Linked DNA regions of Homo sapiens: all the other regions are linked to region 3. Evidence: promoter capture Hi-C in 16 types of primary human blood cells and fetal thymus (Javierre and others, 2016). All regions are on one chromosome and are shown on one strand. The core of a region is centred on a gene start or on the middle of the fragment in contact, and the rest is flanking DNA. Distances in the headings are between cores, read along the strand shown.

The links. Contacts are between HindIII fragments. The CHiCAGO score rates a contact against its expected background, and 5 or more counts as called.
Region 1: a fragment that was not itself captured here is called in contact with the fragment with the promoter of VCPIP1 in region 3 in 2 of 17 cell types (M0 macrophages and M1 macrophages); the score reaches 5.9 in M0 macrophages.
Region 2: a fragment that was not itself captured here is called in contact with the fragment with the promoter of VCPIP1 in region 3 in 1 of 17 cell types (M2 macrophages); the score reaches 5.3 in M2 macrophages.
Region 4: a fragment that was not itself captured here is called in contact with the fragment with the promoter of VCPIP1 in region 3 in 9 of 17 cell types (fetal thymus, erythroblasts, naive CD4 T cells and 6 more); the score reaches 6.6 in fetal thymus.
Region 5: a fragment that was not itself captured here is called in contact with the fragment with the promoter of VCPIP1 in region 3 in 1 of 17 cell types (erythroblasts); the score reaches 7.0 in erythroblasts.
Region 6: a fragment that was not itself captured here is called in contact with the fragment with the promoter of VCPIP1 in region 3 in 1 of 17 cell types (M2 macrophages); the score reaches 5.0 in M2 macrophages.
Region 7: the fragment with the promoter of TRIM55 here is called in contact with the fragment with the promoter of VCPIP1 in region 3 in 3 of 17 cell types (M0 macrophages, M1 macrophages and M2 macrophages); the score reaches 8.2 in M0 macrophages.

The regions. Positions count from the first base shown.
Region 1 is chr8:66,021,248-66,024,523 of GRCh38, forward strand. It overlaps DNAJC5B (DnaJ heat shock protein family (Hsp40) member C5 beta), which reads left to right and starts at 306. Exons shown (of 6, transcript NM_033105.6): 1 at 306-458. It overlaps LOC105375883 (a long non-coding RNA gene), which reads right to left and starts at 234. Exons shown (of 7, transcript XR_929008.3): 1 at 177-234. The HindIII fragment of the contact is 1,665 bases long and covers 474-2,138 here.
Region 2 is chr8:66,044,110-66,047,371 of GRCh38, forward strand. All of the region lies in intron 2 of DNAJC5B (DnaJ heat shock protein family (Hsp40) member C5 beta), which reads left to right. Among named protein-coding and RNA genes, the nearest start is that of DNAJC5B, 24 kb to the left of the region's middle. The HindIII fragment of the contact is 3,073 bases long and covers 355-3,262 here.
Region 3 is chr8:66,665,775-66,669,113 of GRCh38, forward strand. It overlaps VCPIP1 (valosin containing protein interacting protein 1), which reads right to left and starts at 1,457. Exons shown (of 3, transcript NM_025054.5): 1 at 1-1,457. The coding sequence starts at 1,184. It overlaps C8orf44-SGK3 (C8orf44-SGK3 readthrough), which reads left to right and starts at 1,822. Exons shown (of 19, transcript NM_001204173.2): 1 at 1,822-1,927. It overlaps C8orf44 (chromosome 8 putative open reading frame 44), which reads left to right and starts at 1,822. Exons shown (of 2, transcript NR_161217.1): 1 at 1,822-1,927. RefSeq lists enhancers at 345-404, 655-1,174, 1,545-2,054. The HindIII fragment of the contact is 1,085 bases long and covers 742-1,826 here.
Region 4 is chr8:66,107,452-66,110,684 of GRCh38, forward strand. No RefSeq gene overlaps it. Among named protein-coding and RNA genes, the nearest start is that of TRY-GTA5-1, 4.3 kb to the right of the region's middle. The HindIII fragment of the contact is 6,679 bases long and covers 1-3,233 here.
Region 5 is chr8:67,252,799-67,256,396 of GRCh38, forward strand. It overlaps ARFGEF1 (ARF guanine nucleotide exchange factor 1), which reads right to left. Exons shown (of 39, transcript NM_006421.5): 18 at 653-824. Among named protein-coding and RNA genes, the nearest start is that of ARFGEF1, 89 kb to the right of the region's middle. The HindIII fragment of the contact is 395 bases long and covers 1,731-2,125 here.
Region 6 is chr8:66,062,623-66,066,055 of GRCh38, forward strand. The region is part of intron 3 of DNAJC5B (DnaJ heat shock protein family (Hsp40) member C5 beta); the gene reads left to right. Among named protein-coding and RNA genes, the nearest start is that of DNAJC5B, 43 kb to the left of the region's middle. RefSeq lists a silencer at 1,592-1,886. The HindIII fragment of the contact is 2,496 bases long and covers 464-2,959 here.
Region 7 is chr8:66,125,575-66,128,902 of GRCh38, forward strand. TRIM55 (tripartite motif containing 55) reads left to right here and starts at 1,555. Exons shown (of 10, transcript NM_184085.2): 1 at 1,555-1,862; 2 at 2,730-2,902. The coding sequence starts at 1,695. RefSeq lists a silencer at 1,101-1,373. The HindIII fragment of the contact is 5,122 bases long and covers 1-2,619 here.

The DNA.
Region 1 (3,276 bases), core at 56-2,555, 640 kb before region 3:
GAGTTAGATGAGAATCTGGTCACTAGCCGGTCTTCTAGGTCTCTCCCCACAGTTAAGATCCCATAATTCTGCAGGTCAGTTTATGACCTGCAAAGGGATTCTTCCCTGAGGGCCCTCACAAGGTTTTGAATGGCAGAGCAAATGGAAATGGGGGAATGTCCTTCCCAACCTCCCACCATGGGCAGGAGAGGAAGTGTTGTCCAAGAGGGCCTCAGCTGGACCATCTGGAGGAGTGAGGATTCCACTCTGTGACATCACAATATCCAGCCCAGGTTTGACCTTGACAACTGGGAAGGAGAAATAACAGGAGGCGCAGTTACTGATATAGCCAAGGTGGGACACTACTGGAGGGAGCTAGAAGGGATCAGCCAGCCATGCCTCCAGTTCAGGTACTTGGCATTGCTAAGCTCAGAACAGGACTTGCCAGTGTCTAGATGAAAAAGAGGAGAGATCTCAAGGTGAGTGTGTCTCCAAGCTTAAGAAGAATAGTATAAGCACAGACGGCTTGTGCCCCAGCTGCGTTAGGGTAATGTAAGGTTCCACACGAGCAGAAGCAGAGCTGGGCGCATCTTGCCAACAGCCAGGCTGCTTGCCATGAAGCCGGACGGTGAGGACATTTCCGAGGCTGTAGTCCACTTGTGCTGCTGGTGATATATTTCTATTTAGAGGTTTTTTTCTTTCAATAGCTCCTCCCCGGATGACAGGGTAGAGTAAACAAAAATAAGTTAACTAAGGAAGTATTTTAATAGAAGCCAGTACAAAAACAAACAAAAGTAATAAAAGGTGCAAAGTTGTATTATGGGTTAGCAAGCAAGACTGACTCTAAGGTCAAGTTTTGAAAGTTCAAATCTTGAAAGGCAAAAGGATACCCCTATAAAGAGTAAAAGAGAAGGGCCTTTTGGTTGAGAAGTAAGTAAAACAGCTCTGCTGGAACATATACCGGACCCCCCACCCCGCCCCCAGCAACTCCTGCCAGTGAAATCATTGCTGGGGATGCGGACAGTTCTGTTTTCTTTACCTTGCCTTGGGGTTTTGGCTTCTACAATACTTGTTTCTTCCTGGAGTCTTGGGGCCCTGAGAGGCTCTGAGTGACGGCAAAGAACTGTTCTGTTTACCAGTGGGGCGGAGCATGGGGCCAGCGCCAGGCCCTGACTCATCCCCATGTGGACTCCCTTGGGTCTTAGCACACTGCGACCCCGGAGTTGGAGCACAGGACAGCTCAGGCAGGCACGCTGAGCTCTGCCTGCAAGGTCAGAGTTGATGGCGATGCTCCCTCAGTGGGAGTAAGAGTCCATGTTCTGACAGGTAGGTCAGTTACCCACAGGGGACCCCAACAGCCATCGACAAGAAGAGGAGGAGATGGATTCTCTATCCACAGGACACAACTCTAACTCTCCTTGGCCTCCAACACATCACGAATAAATATATCACAGCAGTAAGGTCAATACTCTCACACTCTATGAAAGTAGTAATAGTCCCCAAAGCATGTAAAACTGAGAGATCCAGATAAAAGCAAAATATACTTGCACATAAACTTCATAGCACACATTCAACTTCTGTACAGAAGTCACTGTGATTTTCACAATTAGGTTATGATCTAATCATAACCACTTAAGACTTGAACATTAAAATCTCATTGGCCCAGTTTTTAGGCTTCCTTCATTGATAGCCATTGAAAACTAAGTTTAAGCTGAACCTCAGATAATACCCACAAAACACAGAATGTCCTAACTCATCTCCATTTGCATTTGTTGACTGTAACGTTCCCTGATCCTTGTGTTAGTCACATGCTGCTGCAGCCTGTCGCATACTGCAGAATTTTAGAGTCGGAGGGGAACTAGAAGATCATCCATTCCACAGCTTCGTTTCCAGGAGAAACCACACAGAGAAGTGTCTCAGCTAAGGGTATCAAGCTAGTTAGTGCTGGGGACTAAAGTTTAAGCCCCCTCACTCTTAGCCTGGTGGCCTCTCCAATACACTCTGCCCCACAATGAATGAATGTATTGGTTCATATTTGAACTAACTCTTTGATTTTCTAAGTTAGAATATTCTAAAAGGAGGAAATCTCATTTATCACCTTGGTGTGGTTATTGGTAAAAGCAGATATTCTCCTAGCCTCTGCACCTCCATACAAGATAAGCTTTGGTCAATGACAAGAAAAAGCACTGAAGACCCCATTCAAAACACTGAGATAACAGTGAAAATAAAACCAGGGAAATTGACTAGCTACTGTAAATTGAGGGCTGATTAGAAGTAATCCTTTTTTTCTTAAAAAAACATGTATACAATTTACCAGATTTTTACTTTATAATAAATATACGGTCTTCCTGTGGCCTTGTCTTTTCCTGTTTAGGTAGATAATACTTTGTTTATGAATGTGTGTGTGTATACCCTTGAATGTACAGATGAGTAAACACTTTATCTGGCAGGTGTGGGGCTGGCTATTACATCCATCCGTGGTATCCGACCTACACTTACTTACCTAATATATCTTCTATATGAGCCTTCTGTGACTTATCCCATGAATTAATATTCTATTTGGAATTAACATGATAGTGTAGGAGGAGCCTCCTTAGACTTGTCCAGGGTTTGACATACATGAAGCTATATATGTCTTGCATCCGTAATTAATCTGCAAGTTTGAGCCCAGGCAGTCCCTGGGTGCAGGTAGTCAGCGTTTTTCCAATTAAATTTATTGCAAATGTACTAATATCAGCCCAAAGATCCAAATTCTGAAAGAAAATGAAATGAAATGAAGAATTTTTAAATATAAATAGAGACCTAACTTTTATAGTCATCAGCGCCATCATTAACCTTAGAGATGTCTGGTAAGTATTTTCTAGGCCATTAGATTGTTTTTTAGCCAACTAAAATGTGTACTTCCTGTAAGGATTTTCCATATGTTTCTGGTATTACATGCAGGTTGCCTTTAATAAAAGATAATTATGAAGCAATTACCAACAAGAAGGAGCATAAGAAAGAGCATTCCATCATGGCATAGGCTTTACACAGTTGTTGTAATAACTTTCAGCTTCCTTATTAATTTTAAAAGTTGTGTAATATACTGAGTAATTTTACACACACTACAGTGTATAACTGCAGAAGAAAGCTAATTGTGAAAAACAGAGGGATAAAAGAAGTTTTAGTTTCAGGATTCTTTTTTTTTTTTTTTTTAATGTTTTTTTTTTATTATTATACTCTAAGTTTTAGGGTACATGTGCACATTGTGCAGGTTAGTTACATATGTATACATGTGCCACGCTGGTGCGCTGCACC
Region 2 (3,262 bases), core at 641-3,140, 620 kb before region 3:
CGGCCAAGAGCATTGTTTTCAAATAGCAAATAAGTAATCCTGCTAGGGAGAATTATTACTTTTAAACATAGGATTTGCATTTTGGAAGTTCATTTAGCTTTAAGATACATTATTTGGGCTTATGGGAATTTTGCTCCACTAAACAAATTTCTATGAAGGAATCATAGAAGTAATGACAAAGCAGCAAAACTTGTTGATTTCCCCAGTGAATGCCATGGAAAGTGTGTTTGCTGTGTTTAATGATCTAATCTCCTCTGCCCACATTCATTTTCTCAGTTGTGAAGGGACCCTGCCAAGAAAGGCATAGTTTGACTTTTTCTATTTTTTCAAACTTCACATAATAGATATAGGTGAAGCTTCTTTTGCTTCGAAATGAAGATTTCATTTCAACACGAAAGATTTAGAACCACACCCGTAGGACCCCTGGAATTAGAATCTTTAAAATTTTTGTTAACTTTGAGTCAGTGCCTATTGTCATTGGGGGGTTGTACCTTCTTTCAGTTACATCCATTATCAAGAGGCACCTGAGCAGTACCTGGTTTGGTAGTCACTCTATAGAGGTCAATGGTTTTTGTAATATTAATGGCTTTGTCGTGCAGCTAGAAAGTAATTTTAAGTTCAGAAGATTAAGTATCATGTACTAGATGTTCAAAATTAAATCACTTAATGACTTTTCTCGACAAGATTTTTCTCCCCATTGGATGCCTGATAGATGAGGGACTATGAATAAATAATAAAGACTTGAAATTTGCATAGGAATATTATAATTCAAAAGGTTACAGAAAAAAGAGTTTTAAAAGTTGTATTTTATATAAGGAATTTTAAAAGGTTATGGGCCCACTATTTAAGGTTATTTAAGGAAGAGATTTTATGTTATTATGTTCTCAGGACATAACATCTTTACAGTCATTAAAGGTTTCAATGTATTACTCTATTGAATCTGAAACTAAATATCATAGAAATCAATAATATATGAAGAATCTGGTTTCTAGCTTAACAAGGAGGCAGAAAAAGTAGTGTGTTGTTGCTGCTTGAGGCACAAAGCAGCTTTCTGGTCTTTTGGTTCCTTCATGTTTCAGTGTGTAGAGTCAGCCAACTACTTCCCACATTGACCAACTATCTTTTGCTTGCATTTTAACATGATGCAAATGGACTTTTTAAAAAAGTTTCTTCATTAAAAGATGTTGTCTGTCTGAAAGGAAATATTTGGGAATAGGGCAAAAGAAGATGAAACAGACAATAAACACTCTATACTACCCATTCTGAATATTGATCAATGCATATTATCAAACAAGTTGGCTACTGGAATTTCATTTAGTGGGAATAGATTATAATGTGATTCAATTTTTAAATGAAGTGATGATTGGAAAAAACATTATAAACCAAAGAATTAGCTAGCTACTGTGTCTTCCCGGGTGTGAGTTTTTATCTATGAAACTCTTCGAGAAATGGAATCTGCCTTTTTTTTTCATACTAGAAAAGGGAGGGTAGAGAAGCAAAGGCCTGGGGCAGAGAAAGACAGGCTCCAGGCTGTTTCCAGGACTGTTCTCTGGAAGGGGCTGGGAGCAGCCCCTGCCTGAGCCCATTTCTCTTTTTCCACACCTGGGATAATTTTGAAGGAGGGAGCCTTGGAGAAAACCATCCTCAAAGGGCACCAGAGGGCTCTGCAGGCTCCCCAGGGCTGCTTTCCTCACACAGGAAAAGATACTGGACAGGATTCAGGCACCCTCAACTCCAGAAACCTCGGAGTCTTCCTTTGTGAAAAGCATGAATGCTAACGTTAGGCTGCTTTGCTCACAGACATTGGTGTACCCAGTAAAAGTGCTGCCCAACGCCAAACCTAACATGCCCCCATCCTGTCACCACCCAGTCAGCAGGGAAAATAAGAACCAGGAGTTTGGGAATGGAGAGGTGGTAGGAGCATGTTTAACAAGACTAGAAACGCTCAGGGCTATGGCTCATGTGGTTCCTGTAGCCCTGAGCCACAGGGCTTCCTGGAAATCCTCAGGAGGTTTTGACCCAGAGACCAGGAATCTTCTTTCCTGTGTGGCTTACAAACTGGGCTCCCTGCAGAAGTTCTGAAATTCTTGCATAACCCACACATTCCTCTACTTCCAGGTAACTCTACTTTCCTAACTAACCCCTTCAGGAGCTCCCTCTTAGTCCACGTGCAGGCTCAGTGGCTGCGCAGAGGGAAAACACTTGCCACCATAGCCCTTAGATCCCACTGCGCCTTCCTGTGGCCCCTCACCGTGGACAGAGCTGCAGGGCCCCTCACGTCCTGCAGCTGGACACAGTGCAAGGCTGCTTCAGTTCAGTGTCACCACTATTCAGAGTTCTTGTGAGGATTAGATGAGATACTAGTTGGGGGAAATTGTAAATTGTAAAGTATCTTAGAAATGTCAAGTGTTATTCAATATGACACTCCAGTAAGAACATGGGCTTTAGAACCAGATAGCTCTAAATTCAAAACTTGCCTGTGTGAACCTGGGCAAGTTGCTTTACTTCAGGGAGACTCACTTCTCTCATCCATAAAATGAGATTGCAAAGGAGAGAGGTATATGCCCGCTGCCCCTCGGGGGCTACAGGCTGCTTGTCTTCTAAAGACTTCATATGACAGTATTCATCACCATATCATGAACTTACCGTGGTCAAAACAGTGAAAGGCTGTCCAGTTCTCAGCCTTGGAAGCTCAACCAGCTGAGATGGCGGCAGCCAGAGAGCAGGGCCTTGCTGAAGGCCACACTCCCTGCAGCCACGTTCTCCGGATGGTGCACAAACTTTGGATGTCCATTATTTTATGAAGGGAAATAGCTATCCTTGGATGAAGACCACTTGTGTCAACATGACCCATTCATGCCCTCCTTGTGGGTGGATCTCAGGGCAAGACAAATCATCAACAGATTCCAATTTATTCATTTACCAGGAGATAGAATTGTCCCTGAGACCAGTGAAAAGAACTGAATCCATGTGACCAGTGCATTCTCTTCCTTGAGGAAGACTTATGTAGGACGCCAGATAATAACCAAAAGGAGACTTGACAGCATGGAGTTAGATTAGTCGAATTTTAACAATGAGGGCCAAAATTGCTGGATGGGCTTCTCTCAAGAGCAACCGTTTGGCCAATGGGGCCTGAGTCCTTTTCCTCCTTCCTTGCAATAGTGCTTGGATGGCCCAGCCAGCATTGGCCTCCGCATTTGTTTTTCTCTGCCTGCCCATGTCTGCTCATCCTCCTGAATAACCGACACAAGAAGAACCTGAC
Region 3 (3,339 bases), core at 207-2,706:
CCATCCTCTTCAAGTTTTATGTACTTTTTAATAAGGTCCTGAGGCACACCCCATGCTTTAGGAAGCAAATTCATAGGCAGTTTGGGCAAAGCAGCCCCTTTTATGCCTACCAAGGGGATATAATGGTTTCTACCGGAGCTGCTCCATGCAATACAGATTGGTTTGTTCAAATGACCATCTTTCCCAGTGCACTTCTCTGCAGGGATGAGCCCAGGTAGAAAGGTGGCTGAATAATCACCAGAGCTTCTCATGCCACTGAGGGAATCTAACAGAATAATAGGACGATGTAGCACATTGGCAAGACCAAATATGTGGATATTCCTCAGGCCCAAGGGAACACCCTCAGGTGGTACAAACAGAGGGTCACACTCATTGATAATGTCCTCCCACTCAGCAGCATCAATGAAGTCATGGAACAGAGCTTGATATCGGGCCAGGTGCTGCTGAAAGTGCTGTTTAAGATTCTCTCTTAAGGCATGCCAGAAGAGCTCTCGGCCTACTAGAGCCCGAGACACAGCATGCACCAAGCAGTGTCCATCCCCGTCCACATGCACTGGAATGAGACATTCCTGGCTTTTATTGGCCCGCTTAATGTCCTCCAGAGTGTCATGCAAATACAGGAGGCTTCCGGAGCGGTCCTTGCCATAGCCCACAGTGTTAACATGCTCTGGTTCTATGAGGAAGGCGCGGTCACCCAGTAAGGCGCAATCGAACAGTTCGCCCTGGTTCATGTCCCGGAGAAGCTTGGCCCGGCCTGTCTGTTTGTCCATTCCATAGCGAGCTAATATGGGCGACAACAATTTGCAGTGATAGTTGGAAAGGCCCATCACCTTTACCAGTTCCGTGTTCTTCTTGGGTGCCCCCGTAACCCCGAGCAGCGCGTTCCGCAGCAGGTTGTGTAGCACTACGTCCGGGTCGGTCACCTCCTCAACCCCCAGCAGCTGTTGCTGCTCGTGCCGCTGGCCGCACTCGGTACACTCGATGCTGACAGAACCGGAGGCCGGGAAAAATAGACGCGCCTGACACTTCGGATCCGGGCAGCTCCCGGAAAGGATTCTCCGGTCTCTCCGCTTCAAAAGCCCCCCCGAAGCAGCCGCCGACGCCAAGGACGACGGAGTCTGTGGAGCCTCAGGGGGAGGAGGTGGCGGCGGCAACGGAGGCGGCGGCGGCGGCGGCTGAGACATAGCTCCTGGCTCTCGTGTCTCGCTCCGCGTCCCAGGCGACCCTCAAAAGCTCATAGCCCAGACCCCCACCAACCCGACTCGGTCCAGTCCAGGCCCAGGGCGAAGCACTTTCCTTTCCCTACCAGCTCTTCCTCCTCCTAAGCGAAGGCGGAAGCGCCGGACGTTGTTTCTCTTCTTACTTCTCCACTGCCGTAGCCGTTGCCCCGAACGTAACGGCCACCACCCCACCCCGCACTCACACTCACTCACTCTCGCTCTCTCTCCCTCAGACACAGACATACACGCCCTCATTGAGTGTGCGCAGGCGCAGCTTCCGCTCTGCCCTCTGGGAATTAGAGTCTTCCAGCCTCTGTGCTGGCCATCAAGCCCTAGGATCTTGAGTCCAGAAGGAACTACAAGTACCGTGAGGCCAAGCGGTTCAGCGCTAGAGGAGAGGAGGAAGAGGACGGCAACAGGAAAAGGGGCGAAAGAAAGATGGTGACTCGCGTTGCCTGCCGGTAGTTGTAGTTTTACTGGGCTCTCCTTCGTCGTCTTCCCCACTCTGCAGCCCAAGGCAAAGAGTCTGAGAGACCACATTTCCTAGGATGCCGTGCGGTGCGTCTAGCTGCACTTCCTCCTTAGGCGGAGGGGAGGATTCAGGGAAGCTTGGTTAAAAACAGTTATGGCAGTGGGAGTCGAAGCGAGGGTCTGAAGTTCACGACTACTAGAAGGGGAGGGGAGTGGAAAGGCTCTCAGTGAAAAAGGTACAGTAAATAAATGTCCAGGGATATTGGGGGCTGGGAAGTTGAATAAATGGTCTAATCTAGGCTGGAGGCCATAAGGGGGAAAACAGTTGATTCTCGGAAGCTCTGCCTTCTCCCCCTCTCTAGTGCGAATCACTGAGGCGCCATTTGATTTCTCGTTTCCTGCATGTTTTGGCAGTTTACAGTGCAAATAACGGTACCTTGGATGTCTGTAGAGTTTTGTGTGCATATACAAATTCTCTTAACTAGGTTTAATTTCATTTGCTCTTTACCACCCTACTCCCCAGAGAATAATAAGAGCCATCATGTGTTAAGTTCTTAATATGTGTCTGGACAGCATTTGCATAACACGATATCATTTGATCTTAAAAAATAACCTTCTTAGGAAACAGGCCCAGAAAGGAAATGACTTGCTAAAGTTCACGCAGCTGATAAGTGAGTGGATAGACATTCAGATCTCAACCTGTCTTCTTTTTACAGATCAGGACATAGGCAGGAAAGGTTAGGCCTGTATTACATAGAATAGTAACTAGCATTTGCTTACTATTGCCTTATAGTTTACATATTTAATAATATGTTCACATGTATCATCTCATCCTCACACCAGTCCTGTAATACCTTTACCAGGTGGTGTTGACTTCATTTACAATCAGGGAAACTGAGACTAAAAGGAATTAAGTGACTTGCCCAAGGTCAAGTCACCAGTTATGCTGGATCCCAATCTCAAACCTTGAGAGTGATTTTTACGCTGCTGCTTACCAAAAAATCCCGGCCGGGCGCGGTGGCTCACGCCTGTAGTCCCAGCACTTTGGGACGCTGAGGCGGATGCATCACGAAGTCAGGAGATCGAGACCATCCTGGCTAACATGGTGAAACCCCGTCTCTACTAAAAATACAAAAAAATTAGCCGGGCGTAGTGGCGGGCGCCTGTAGTCCCAGCTACTTGGGAGGCCGAGGCAGGAGAATGGCGTGAACCCGGGAGGCGGAGCTTGCAGTGAGCCGAGATCACGCCACTGCACTCCAGCCTGGGCGACAGAGCAAGACTCCGTCTCAAAAAAAAAAAAAAAACCCAAAATGTTAGGCTCAAATCTTTTGCTAGGCCTTAGAGTCTCCTCTTAGTGATGAAGGGATGTTTAATGTTAAGGAGGCAACAGCTTTATTCTTTTTTCACTTGGGTAGGAAACTGCCTCTTCATACAGAACAATATTCATATGTTAATTGAAAGCTAGTATTATTTTTGTACATTCATCCTCTTTCACTTATTACGGAAATTCTTGCTTTCTGGAAGTTTAGTATCACCTTAGGTAAGTGGACTACCTCAAAATTTCTGAAACATTTGGCACCAACTAGAAACATTAGTGAAGTCCATGAGATCATTTGAGTCTTCTGTAGCTGCCCAGGAAACCGCCTGA
Region 4 (3,233 bases), core at 211-2,710, 560 kb before region 3:
GAGAAAACCATGGATAAGTCAGTAAGCCTGAATACAGCCTTGCTCCCCTAATCTGGATGGTCATCCTAAAGACATTGTTTAATCTTTCTGGGTAGAGCTTCCTGATCTGTAGAATGGTTTCCTTGACTGAAAGGAAAAACTTGAAAGCTCTTTAGTGCACATATGTCTAAGGAATAATTTTTCAAATAAACAATGGCTTTTTTTTTTCACATTTCACGGAGTCTTGACACACCTCCTTGGAGCACTGCTGTTAACAAATTTAAGGGATTTCACCTTTGGATTTAGAGGTGAGAAGAGAATAACCTTTAATAGATGAAACGCTTTTCTACTCCCAGAATGTCCATTTTCTGACCGTACTGGCATCAGAACCTGCCTTTCAACCTCCTTCCTCCCAGAGTAGCAGCTGCCAGCCCAATATCCCTAACCCAAGTGTCCATCTGAGGACAGAGAGACCAAGCAGTGCTACAGAAAGCCCTGGCTGTGATTCAGGAGGCCTAAGATCTCATATGCCACTTCTCCCCTCTGTTACCTTGGATAAGTCATTTCACATATTTGGGCCTCAGTTTCTTCATTCTTAAGCAATTTTTATTACAGAATATCTATAATTAGATGACAATTATGGGACACTCTGACCCATACGTGTTATGTAAAATAACTTACATATGGTTAAACAAAAATGTAATGATGTCAAAAAATGCAGAAACAAAAGCAAATTTCTTCACCATCCCCATATAGTTTGTTAGGGCTATCATAACAAAATATCACAGACTGGGTGGCTTTTAAAAAGATAAATTTGTTTTCTCACACTTCTAGAGGCTAGAAGTCTAAGCTCAAGGTATTGGCAGGTTTGGTTTCTTCTGAGACCTCTCTCCGTGGCTTGTAGATGGCCGTCTTCTCCCTGCGTCTTCCTGTAGCCTTCTCTCTATGCATGCATGTGCCTGCTGTCTCTGTATTCTGTTCTCCTTATAAGGACACCAGTTGTATTGGATCAGGGTGCACCCTAATGACCTCATTTTTGCTTAATTACCTCTTTAAAGGCCTTATCTCCAAATACAGTCACATTCTGAAGTACTAGGGGTTAGGTCTTCAACAAATAAATTGGGGTGGGGAGGGAAGACAGAACACAATTCAGCCCAACAACAAGCATGCCATCAATTTCTCAAAATTGTGCCATATTTCAGTTTGCTTTATATTTGAACCACGTATTTTTTATAAAGTTTTTTTTTGTTTTTTTGTTTTTTTTAGAAATCCCTGAGTATCTTCGTTCTGTCTTTTTGAGAAAAGTGACATGTGCCTTTATCATATCTCTAAGGTCTCCCAGATCCTTAATCACACTACTATTGTAAAAGAATCCGCTTCTTTTTGAAAAATAAACTTCCCAGAGCCCTCTAACTTTTTTTTCCTCCCCTTAATTTGTCCTGATTGCTTTCTTTGCCAGCTGCATCACTGTCAACCTGAGATTTTCTTTTCATTGAGTCCCTGGGTTGGTTTCCTTTTTTCTTAAATCCTGTGTACTCCTCCTTCTTGGATTCTTACTTTGCTTTGCTGAAGTACATCCATGGCATACACAGAGACATGCTGCTAGACTGCCTTTCAAGAAAGAACTCACTGCCCAGCTGCAAGGAGGATGGTTAACTAGTAGCCATCAGGTGTTAACTCCTCTAGCCAAGGTTCTAAGCCTCTGGCCAATGACTGAGCAAGGTGGTGATGCTAGGGCCCCACCATTTCTGCCCAACTTGAGACTCCTCCAAAAGGAAATCTTTGCTCTGGAGCCACCAAGAGGGTTGGCAGAAACTTTGTCGGGTCTGCATCACTGTCTAATGACTACCCCTACCCAATCCTGTGTCCTCCCCTTTTCCATTCACAGATGTTACTCCCCTGTAAAATGTTGTGCTCTAATTCTGCATGAGCTTCAGCTTACTGGAGAACCCATCCAGTACAACATCCTCAAATAATGTTTACTTACTTTTTATTTGTTTCAGAGAGGAATCATAGATTTAAACTTTATGAGACCTTGCAACTATGAACTATTAGTCCTCATATGTGATTGCTACTTTGATTGGCATACAATTCTAGGCTTAAAATTATTTCTTTGCAGAGCTTTGAAGGCCATGCTCAACTGTCTTCTAGCATCCAGTAATGATGATGAGAAGTCTGATCATAATCCAATTCTTATTCCTTTGTAGCTAGCCTAGTTCTTGTTTAGATTTTGCTTTGTTTTCCTCCATCTCTGAAAGTTACAGGGTTTCATCTTTATCCTCAATGCTTTTGAATGTCACTAGGCTGTGTCCAGGCATGGTTATTTTTCATTCATCCTAACTTGCATGATCCTTTCCATCTGATGACCAATGTCTTTCTTTTATTCTTACCCCTGCATTGTCTCTGTTTTCTCTTTCTGGAGCTCATATTAGATACTCTTTATGTCTTCAGGATCTATCTTTTCTTTTTTTTTTCTTTTCTATCTTTTTTTTGGTGTGTGTGTGTGTGTGTGTGTGTGTGTGTGTGTGTGTGTATAACCAGATCTCACTCTGTCCCAGGAGCTGGAGTGCAATGGTGCAATCAATCATAGCCCGCAGCAGCTTTGAACTCCTGGGCTCAAGAGATCCTTCTGCCTCAGCCTCCCAAGTAGCTGGGACTACAGGTAAACACCACCATGTCTAGCTAATTTTCGTATCTTTTGTAGAGATGGGGGTCTTGCTTTGTTGCCCAGGCTGGTCCCAAACTCTTAGCTTCAAGCAATCCTCCCGCCCTGGCCTCCCAAAGTACTGGAATGACAGGGGTGAGCCACTGTACCCAGTGTCATGTTTTTATTTTTTGCTTTCCATGGTCTGATGTCCTGGGATATATTTTCCATTCTATCTTCTATATCTTCATAGCTGATCTTTAGCCATGACCAGTATGTTACTTTTCACCTTAGCAATCATACTTTTAGTATTCAGGAACTCTCTTCTTCCCTAGTTGCTCCTGTTAATATCACTGTATTTTGGTTTTCATTGCTGTAACTCTCTCTTGGATGTCCTTGAGGATATCCCTAACTACTTTTTTGTTAAATAGTTCTGTTCTATTCTTTGCATTATTTGTTTTCTCCTCGGTCATTTATTTAACTTGTTCATCTTGGACTTTCTTTTTGAAGTTGTTGTTATTTCCTCCCAAATGTCTGGTAAACATAACGTGTCCTTCATGATACATTGCTATCTGTAAAAATGGCTGTGTCCTGCGGACTATCAGGCTTT
Region 5 (3,598 bases), core at 678-3,177, 590 kb after region 3:
TAGAAATTTCTAACTCTATGAGCTCTCACCTGATCCTAAACCTCCCCACCTCCTCCAATCATCCCTACTTCCAGCTTCCATTTATGTGTAACAAAAGATGAACAAATGGAAATATATTGCTTGAAGATGATGAGGAAGAAGAAAAAATGACAAGGGTTGAAGCCTGACTATTGGGTCTAACTACTCTTTATGACCTCCAAATCCCTGCTGAGGTTAACTACTAAATGGATCAGCATATATTAAATGCACACTGACACATGCATATAATGTATACCATTTTCCATTAATCACTGGTCAGTGTTATCTTTCTTCAGAATGTGGGGAAAAAATACAATCATATCACCAAACTCTATTATAATATTTCTCATCAAAACATGGTTCTAAACAATATTTCTAAGGTTACTTTATTCTAAATCAAGTGAAAAACTCTCTTTTAAATTAAAAAGTTTTTTCTTTTTTAGAGACAAGAACCTTGCTATATTGCATATGCTGGTCTCGAACTCCTGGGTTCAAGTGATCCTTCTGCTTCAGCCTCCCTGAGTAGCTGGGGACTATAAATGCAAACCACCACACCTGACCATAAGTGAAAAACTCTTAGGAACCCATATTTTTCCCCTTGAACAATCAGAATTCAATTAATTTAGATACTTACTCTGTTTACTTGATTTTGTAGGGATTGTTAGTTCTTTTGTTTCTTTCATTGATATCTTTTTCCCAGCTATTTCATTATAGATGGCTGATAGATACTCTTCAGGAAGGTCTTTACTGTCATTGATACCTCTATTCATCTTAATGTATTGTTCCTTTGTCATTTTATTTTTCACCTAGATATGAAAAACCATTATAATTCCTAAAAATTAACATAAAGGTTACACTTGTATTTTAAGGATATGAATATTTACATAAGAGATTTTGTAAATACTTTTGAGGATAGAAACTGGAAAGTATTCAACAAAATATAGATAAAAATGAAAAAAATCACAGAAAATGAAGGCAATACAGAAAAGATCCATTCTGGCATAAACTAATTCATGCTCTGAGGTGGACATGAGTAATGTGCAACCAGAAAGGAGGGAAGTTGAACAATGAAAATATTTGTTTTTGCTCAAGGTTTAAGAGCTTTTGCAGTCTCTCAAAAGGGCCATGACAATTATTGGAAATAAAGATATCAAAAACATTCAAATCTTAGTTTAGAAGAACATAAATGTGCTGTTAATGAATTTAAAGCTGACTTTATATACAGTGGGTATAAGAGTAACAATACTTGAGATTTATTTAAAACCAGTTAACAATCTCTCTGACTGAGTCACTGTGGCAACTGAATTATGTCAGGTGATCTGTACAAAGTATCCTTGGAATGTTTTGTCTTGTATAAGAGTACCCTAAACAGAAATGCCTTTTGCACCTTGATAAAGCTGTGGAATACAAGTTTGGAGTCTGTAAGACGGTAACCCCATTACCAAACTTGGGAACTAGCATAGCCAAAATGTTTACACTTTACCTCCAGAAACCTAGATAGATAAAACCCAGAAGTCTTATGTGATGTCTCTGAAGAGACATTTATTTAATTAAATATATTTCTACGTCTTATATGATGTCTCTGAAGAGGTATTTATTTAATTAAATATATTTCTACCACCTTCCATAAAGAACTTAAGGTAACTCTTAAGATATAATTCCTGTAAATTTACATGAAAGTACACAGAAAAACAATCAAGCAAGTCATCAGAAGCTTGCAAAAACTATAGAGAGTGTGGTGTTATGTGCCCGTAGTCCCAACTATTCAGGAGGCTGGGGAAGGAGGATGGCACAAGACCAGGAATTCAAGTCCAGCCTAGGCAACATAGCAAAATCCTGTCTCAAACAAAAACAAAAGTACAGAGGAACCAAAACTTTCAGAAAATGTAACTGGGATATATACACTTATTTACTTCAGATTATTCTGCAAACAGATTTTTCTAACATGTCAGAAAGGGAGGCAGGAGTGCTTTCCCTACAAATATGTAAAAATATTACCATGAAAGTTTTCAAGTGTTTAACGTATCATTTAATGGAATAAAACCCTACTATCTTATAACTTTAAAAACTCAAGTCATGGCACTAAAAAAAAAAAATGAAAGAAAGAAGCTTTTTTACCTAAAGTTCAGGTGAATGCTTAAAAAACACACCAGGAATAACAAAATAAAAGACTACACACTGCTGCCAATAAGAAGTAAAGGAAGATTAAAATCACCTGGAAATTTTAAGCATGGCAAAATGTTTTAGCATTATGCCAATCAGAGGCAGAGAAAAGTCTTGACAGAAAATCTGAAGTAGCAGTTAATTGCCTGTGGATCTGGGTTAGGGATCCCATACGTGGGCGTACAGAATACTTTGCTTTGAGGTCCCCAAAATAAGTGCACTGCTTCACACAGAACACTTCTGCCATAGTGGGATTCTGAAGCTGTATAAAACAAAATCCTACTTTTCTTCTCCTGCCATCTTTTATGGAACATTCTACTCTTGACTTTTATCCTCGTGTGCTTGTATTAAGCTGTGCCTTATTTAGTGTTTAAATCACTTAAAGCCAGTTGTTACTACTGATGATTATTGTATACACAAAAATTGTGTTCTAAATATGCCTAAAATTTTTTTTTAATCACTGACTCACCACACACTACATAAAAAGTAGCCTAACTATAAATATTCTGGGTGAAAAGGGAACATAAACAGCTTGTTAAAATCCACCTATTTTTTAAGTTTGAAAAGAACTAAGAATGAGAATTAGTTTTAAGAAATTCCTTTAAAGTTATTTGTATTTTAAAATGTTGTCATTTGTTATAGTTATCTAAATCAACTGAGGCCAAGATCACGGGTACAATTTTCTAACAGATTACTTAGCTTCATAGAAACTCACAAGCTGTTCTACAGCTGCAGGCTGCATAGCAGCACATGACACCAGGCAGCAAGCTGATAAGGAACAGTTGGACAACAAGCAGTTGCCACCGCTAGACTAGGACTCCAAGCACATGTTCTGCAAACAGGCACTGTTATGCTAAAGACGGGACACTGTTGTGAAGGTAATACTCCCTAACTGGTATGTCCTTAGAAACTTTTCACAGTCTAGGTACTTATGAAAAGACATAAAAGGAATTTTTAATATTTCTTCAAAATAACATGAGTATGTACATATGTATAGGAAGACATTGCACAGGTGCATATAATATTGCTTATTCATTTAGAGAACCAAATGTCTTTTAAAGCATAGCTTTTTAAAACCAAACATATGTAAACCCAGGTCAAAATACTCTAGTGTAGATTGAAAAATCAAATGAAAAAATTAGACTGAAAATTCTGGTGTAAAAATATCTAAACAAATCCCAACTGTGAACTACCTTATAAAGCCGTAGAATAGAAGTCATCATGCTCGATAATAAAAGCCCTGAAGGTGAGCTGCTTTGACTATACTGCCAAAAATATGCCAGAGGCAAATCTTGAATTATTAAATTCTTTAATAAATTTTTAAAGTCCTATATAAAATCAAGTAAATTTGTGGTAAATGCATAGTTGCTCAATATTGTGTTTAAAACAGGAGTAACTTCACATATAATCATATGTA
Region 6 (3,433 bases), core at 462-2,961, 600 kb before region 3:
ATCATGCAAAGATCTAGCTCTTCCTTGGCTTTTTAGAGAGCCACAAAATTGGAGTGAGGCTGGCTGTGGTGGCTGTTGCCTGTAATCCCAGTAATTTAGGAGGCTGAAGTGGGAGGATCAATTGAGCCCAGGAGTTTGAGGCTGCAGTGAGCTATAATCATGCCACTGCACACCAGCCTGGGTGACAGAGCGAGATCCTGTCTCTAAACAAAACAAAACCCTAAATAGATATTAACGTATAGACAGGCTTGGTGGCATGTGCCTGTGGTCCTGGCTATTTGGGAGGCTGAGGTGGGAGGATCTCTTGAGCCCAGGAGTTTGAGGCTGCAGTAGGCCATGATTGCACCACTGCACTCCAGCCTACGTGGCAGAGTGAGACCCTGACTCTAAAAAACAAACAAACAAAAAATCAAAGTGAACTAGTTTTGCACATTAGCACTTGGGTCTCTGTGTCTCATGAATAAGCTTAATTCCTCCTTGTTGACAAGGTACCAAGTATTCTGATTCACATGACAGCAGAAGACTCAGTTGACTGTTCTTTTTCATTTGACTTCACATGGAATTTTCTAGAAATTATCTTCCGGTTCTGCAGAAATGAGTTGCCTCAGAGTAGACCAAAGTGAGGCAAATTCTGTTTTCAAAAGAAGCAGAAAAGAGTGCCATTTCCATAATAATCTGTGGCAACCCCAATCTGTGGTGCTTTTACCCATCTTTATTAGCAATTACAGGTGAAAACAGAGACTGCTTATGAATAAAGTGTAAATGTCAGGGGAATGCATAGTTAATAGAAGAATTGTAAATATTTACAAGGCAGAGTGATGATTCAAGCTCACAAGATTAATTGACATTAATCTCTATCAAGCACTAATTTGCTTCCTGAGTTCTAAAACCTTCCACTGAAAAGAAGAGTATGTGAGGCCATACTCACAGCCCACTTGGAAGAGTTGTCTTCCGGTGGGCTGCATAACCTCCCTTGTCCCTCGTCAAGTCTTTCACTTGATCGAACCTCTTAGTTCTTCATGCAGTGCCAATCTCAGTCATTCCTAGGTGCCAGAATCATTACGATCCGTAACTTTTTCACTCACTCATTCACTCAATATCTATTTAGTATTGGATAATTATTTATATTATACTATGAGAGATGAATATACATATAATATTCATTGTATTCATTAATATGAACCCTATGCTCAAGTTCATCTATCCCACTCACTGTACTCTCCCTTGTTTTGCTTGTCTTTGAGACATATCTTTTCAACCTTATTAAATTTTACTCTATGTAGTAAACTCTTTAAATTTACTGGCTCTGGTTTGCATGGTTGTGCAATCTTCTCCAGCAATGCTGGCCAGCAGAGAAACAGGAGTGGAATTAGTGGGTAGCTAATGTCATCTTCTTGGGGGTGAAACAGGAAATCAGAATGATTAAGAAATTGAGTAAGATGGTTTGAGTAGCATTCAAGTGCATGAACACAAGATTCAGCCTGTATAGTTAAGGAAATTGTCAGTGAGACTGCCAGTCTAGAAAAATAGGTCCTATTAGGTTTAAAAAGTGAGTTTGGGGAAAAATGGGTTTAGGAAGAATAAGAAAGTGAGAGCTTGACGTAAAGATCAGAGGATAATGCTGTTTGTTTTTGCACTGAGAAAACTGAAAGACTAGAGACACTGGGAGCCTGAAAAGAGCTATTGGCAGGGACTGCTTCTGAAAACTACCAGGACCTGCTTGGAGCTTTGTCACTGGAACTTAAGCCAGAAGCCGGCAGGAGGAAGGCCTAGAGAGAGCAAGTGCTTGCTGAGAGCTTTGACTAGAACCAGGGGTGCGAGCTGCTATTGAAAGTAGGAGACAAGATATCAGGCGGAGGAAGTCTATACAGCCATTTCTCCTACACCGCAGTCTTATCCTCCCTTGACCTTCTAGTTCAGTAGAGATTGCTGGCCTGAAGAAAAACCACAAATGTAAATTTTCCCCCAGGAAACATAATAAAGTTAGATGCCCAGAAACTTTTATTGGGAGCTTGGGCCAGATACAGATATTTTGAGCTGTATGCAGCCTACAGATTCTGAGTGAGCTGTGGGCTGGTAGGTTGTTGGAAAAGGATTATATTATACAGTACACAGAAATCTTAGTGGCGTGCTAAAAGCTGTCAGTGACCCACTGGTGTCAGAAGTTCAGGTCCTCATCCCCTAAAGTAGTGCCTTATGATTGGTGTTGGACATGTATTTTATCTACTGTGTTTGCACAAATATCCCAGTTCCTTCTACCTTATTAGAGAGGGTAATGAACTGGCTCTTAATCAGCCATAGGAAAAAACTGTAGTGACCAGAAAGCTACCTTAAAAAAAGATTAAGTATTGTTGTACTTTTAATCCTTACATTTAAAAAATCAAGTATAATTCCTCATAAAGTCAAGTTAATACACATTCTAGTAAAAATGTGGGGAAATACTTTTCAAGCGATGATTGAGACACAGTGGTTTCACCAACTCCACTACCACTAGAGGTCAGCACTTGACTCTCCATATGGTTCTGTACGAGGGAAAAGACCAATTCTCTGAAACAGATCATCATCTACGGTTCGTGTTGTTATCTCATGCCATCTGTCTTGAATCACAAAGGTGACTGCATCCCAGAAAATGAGAGAACACTCAAACAATGGTTGGGGTGAGTTGCTCAGATATTCCATCTGCAAATGTGAGAAAATCATAGGATTGTGTAATGTGGCCTTCAGTGTGTCCTCAGTGGGGCCTTGCTGGTCAAAGTACTTGAATCATGTACTATGGTAGCAGGTGTTTTAGAAATAATTACACAGCAGGGGTAGCACTGGCATCACAATCTGCAATTTGAAACCAAATGGTGCCCCGAGCTTTCTATTCTGTCCCTTATGAAGGACAGAGACTAATCCTGGCCCAGTGGCTCCTGAGTCCCTAAGCCCTGCTAGCATTCTCAGCCACATACTGTACTCAAGCTTCTTGTGGGAGGGCAGTTGTACTAGGTGCAAGTGCATGAAGTGGTTGTAGGGGGCTGTAGGGTTGAAGGATTTAGGGGCTGATCAAGAGAAAAGATATGACCACAAGAGGCAATAACACATCATAAGCTTTGTTGGTGCTTGGGTGCTTCGATATGGCTGTGTGAGAGGGGCCCTCATAGCATAAGACTGCCCAGGGGCTTTCAGTGAAGGGGCACCATCTGGGAGAGGAGGGTGAGGGAACTTCTAAGGAAGAGGGGGTCAAAAGAGGGGCTTACGGGTCTAGTTATGTCATCCAGCAGCATGGCAGGTCTTTTGAGTCAGAGAGCTCCAAAGAACTATAAAAGCTTGAGGTCTTATAACCACAAAGCTCCATCTTATCAAAAGCCAGCAGAAGTGGAGTGAGGTTTTGCAGGGTAGGTAAAGCAGACTGGCTCTACGTGGCTGGAAATCTGATGGTCAGGCTATTTTT
Region 7 (3,328 bases), core at 305-2,804, 540 kb before region 3:
ATAGCCCATGAATTGATAAACACAATTAACTGCCTAGGCTGGGTGAACCAAAGTAACTCAGTAAAAAAACTTTACCAGTTCCCGTCCTCCCTGTAGTTGCTAAATAAATATTGAAAGGACTAAGATAATTCTCTAAAGATCCCTGATATGCTTATGAATATATATAACTTATTATTAGTTAATAGAGCTTACTAGATTCTCAATAAGCTCTCCGTGCACACAGCACTAAGACCACACATAACTGACCTACACTTCACTGGTAATTTAATTCACACCAGGGATATGTTAACAAAATGTGTTTATTGCCCAAGGTTTTTAAAATGAAGGAGAAAGAAAGCCGAAATTTATCACATATAAACAGACTTGGATTTCTTTTTTATTTTTGATCTGATTTAAACATTTTTAAATACAATATGTATTGGTTAAACTGTTGCTTCACAAAATCCTGATGAATGTCAGAATCGATGTTTATGACTCAAGAGCAGACCAAGAATATCAGAAATGACCAGAGAAACTATGGTTTAACAAGTCACCTTGGAGGAAGGGGAAATGCAAGGGAGAATAGGTATTTTGGAGGCAGATGAAATGCAGATATGGAAGTAGGACTCCATTTATACTTCAGTTGTCAATGGCACTGGTAACTGTCCCCCAAGGGATGACAAAATAAAATAATAGATCTGCCACCTCCAGGTGCCTGCCAGTTACTACCTCATTACAGATTATTGTTGCAAACTATTATATAATTTAAGAATTTAAATAATCAGTAAAAGACTATCAAATTTTCTTTGTGTTTTTGGGTGTATGTAGGAGGTGGGGCAGTATAGGATGAAAGAGGGCCAAGGAAGAGGAAAGCAATGTGGAAGAGCAAACAGCATACTAGAGTTGTTTTATAATGTAACTTTTTTCTCAAATAATTAGATCATCCACTGGTTTTGAATTTTTATTTATGCATGTATTTATTTATTTATTAGGTGGATACCTTTATGGTGAAGGGATTTGAATTTAGCTTTTAAATTGGAATTTTTCAAAGACCACAACCCCAGCTGACAAAGATGAAATACTTAACATTAAGAAAGTCTTTTTGATGATTGCCTTTGTGAAGCCAGGATAACAATTTTCGAGACATGTTTTGTTCATTTTCACCTAAGAAGGTGCTATTAGGCTACTTTCCGTGACTCAATTCCTACACTCTCAAGACAGGGCTGGCATTAGTTACACAGACTCTGTGCTGCGTTCTGCCCCTTCCTGGAGAAGCCATCGCCAAGTTCTCAGTGAGTGCTCACAGAGGGCATGGTTCAGTGGCTAGGCATGCACATTTGCATTTGTTGTTGACAACTGTCAGCTTCGACCTCCTTCTCCTCACAACCCCGTCTAAATGGGGTTTGTAATCCTCCTTCCCACCCACTCTCTTCACTCCCTGGGGCAAGAATGTTGACTCCTGCTCTCCGTCACCTGTCAGGATCCATCCTCCTGTCACTGGCTTATATGGACACGTCAGCCCACCGTCACGTGACCGCAGGCTGCTAAAAACAGCTCCAGCACCCACTCCAAACCAGGGCCTGAAACAATGTCCTCCACCGAGAGAAACGTAAAGGACACTTGATCACACAATCCCTGGAATAATATCCAGGAAACACTTGCTGGAGCCACTCGCAGCACCCTTCCCTGGCAGCACACTTGGGGACAGCGAGGAGATGAGCGCATCTCTGAATTACAAATCTTTTTCCAAAGAGCAGCAGACCATGGATAACTTAGAGAAGCAACTCATCTGTCCCATCTGCTTAGAGATGTTCACGAAACCTGTGGTGATTCTCCCTTGTCAGCACAACCTGTGTAGGAAATGTGCCAGTGATATTTTCCAGGTAGGTTTGTTTGGAATTTGGTTGAGGGGAGGGGGTGGAAAAGATTCCCTCCTCTTGGAATCAAGTGCTTAACATTGAGGTGAAATCCTTTAAAAAACTTTATAAGGTTGCCGGGCGCTTTGGCTCACGCCTGTAGTCCCAGCACTTTGGGAGGCTGAGGCCAGTGGATCACCTGAGGTCAGGCCTTCGAGACCAGGCTGGCCAACATGGCAAAACCCCATCTCCACTAAAAATACAAAAAAAAAAAAATTAGCTGGGCATGGTGGCGGGCACCTATAATCTCAGGTACTTGGGAGGCTGAGGCAGGAGAATTGCTTGAACCCAGGAGGCGGACATTGCAGCGAGCGGAGATCGTGCCATTGCCCTCCGGCCTGGGCAACAGAGCAAGACTCTGTCTCAAAAAAAGAAAAACAAACAAACAAAAAAACTTTATAAAGTTGCATTTACTTTCAAGAAAAACACGTTTCTTTTAATGATTTGGTTTGTGTCCTCTTTACTCCCAAATCTAGTTTTATTTTAATACTAAGAATCATATTTTTTTTTAAGTCAAACCATTTAATGTGTTTCAAAACTATAAATGAGTAACTGCTGAAGACATGAGTGTGGAGTTTCTGGCTGGAACTTTTGGTTCTGAAAGTGGTGGACGGAAAAGCACCTTACGTGGACAATGGTATATTCGCAGATGACTGTGGATAAGGTCTGACCCTGTGTTTCAGGACCACTTGCTGAGAAAGCCCTGAGGGATGATCTTATGGCAAGCTTAAAGTAGAAGTTCATGTTGTTTGTAGTAGCAGAGAGTGAAAATAAGTCTCAGAGAAGCTGCTTGTGGCATTACCCAATTCCTTTTTTCTTACTTGGCAAGAACAGGCCTCTAACCCGTATTTGCCCACAAGAGGAGGTACCACCATGGCATCAGGGGGCCGATTCCGCTGCCCATCCTGTAGACATGAAGTGGTTTTGGATAGACATGGGGTATATGGACTTCAGAGGAACCTGCTGGTGGAAAATATCATTGACATCTACAAGCAGGAGTCCACCAGGTAACACTCTTCCACTCTTCCATGTGTCAAGCCCATCTGAAACTTGTTTTTGTTTGTTTGTTTTAATGGGTTGCTACGCTGAATGCTTGTTTATCAATCACAGACTGTTTTATGGAAAAATGGTTTTCCAAGTCAGTCCTTCCCAGTGAGACTGAGAGTTGCTCACAGCAGGAGAGAGGGGAGTTGGTGCCCATGCTTTTGTATCAATTTAAGAATGAAGTGACTCATTAACACCAATCCATTCCAGATGGTGATGCTGAAAGAGACATACTGCTGTCCCCCTCCACCTTAAAGCCTGGTATTACATCCATTTTACACATTTTGCACTTCACAGGCACTTTGTAGCTCCAGATCCCTACAAAGCAAAGAAAAAAAAATCTAGTAAATACTTAATAGAAAATTAATAGAAATGGCATCTTCCGAAGT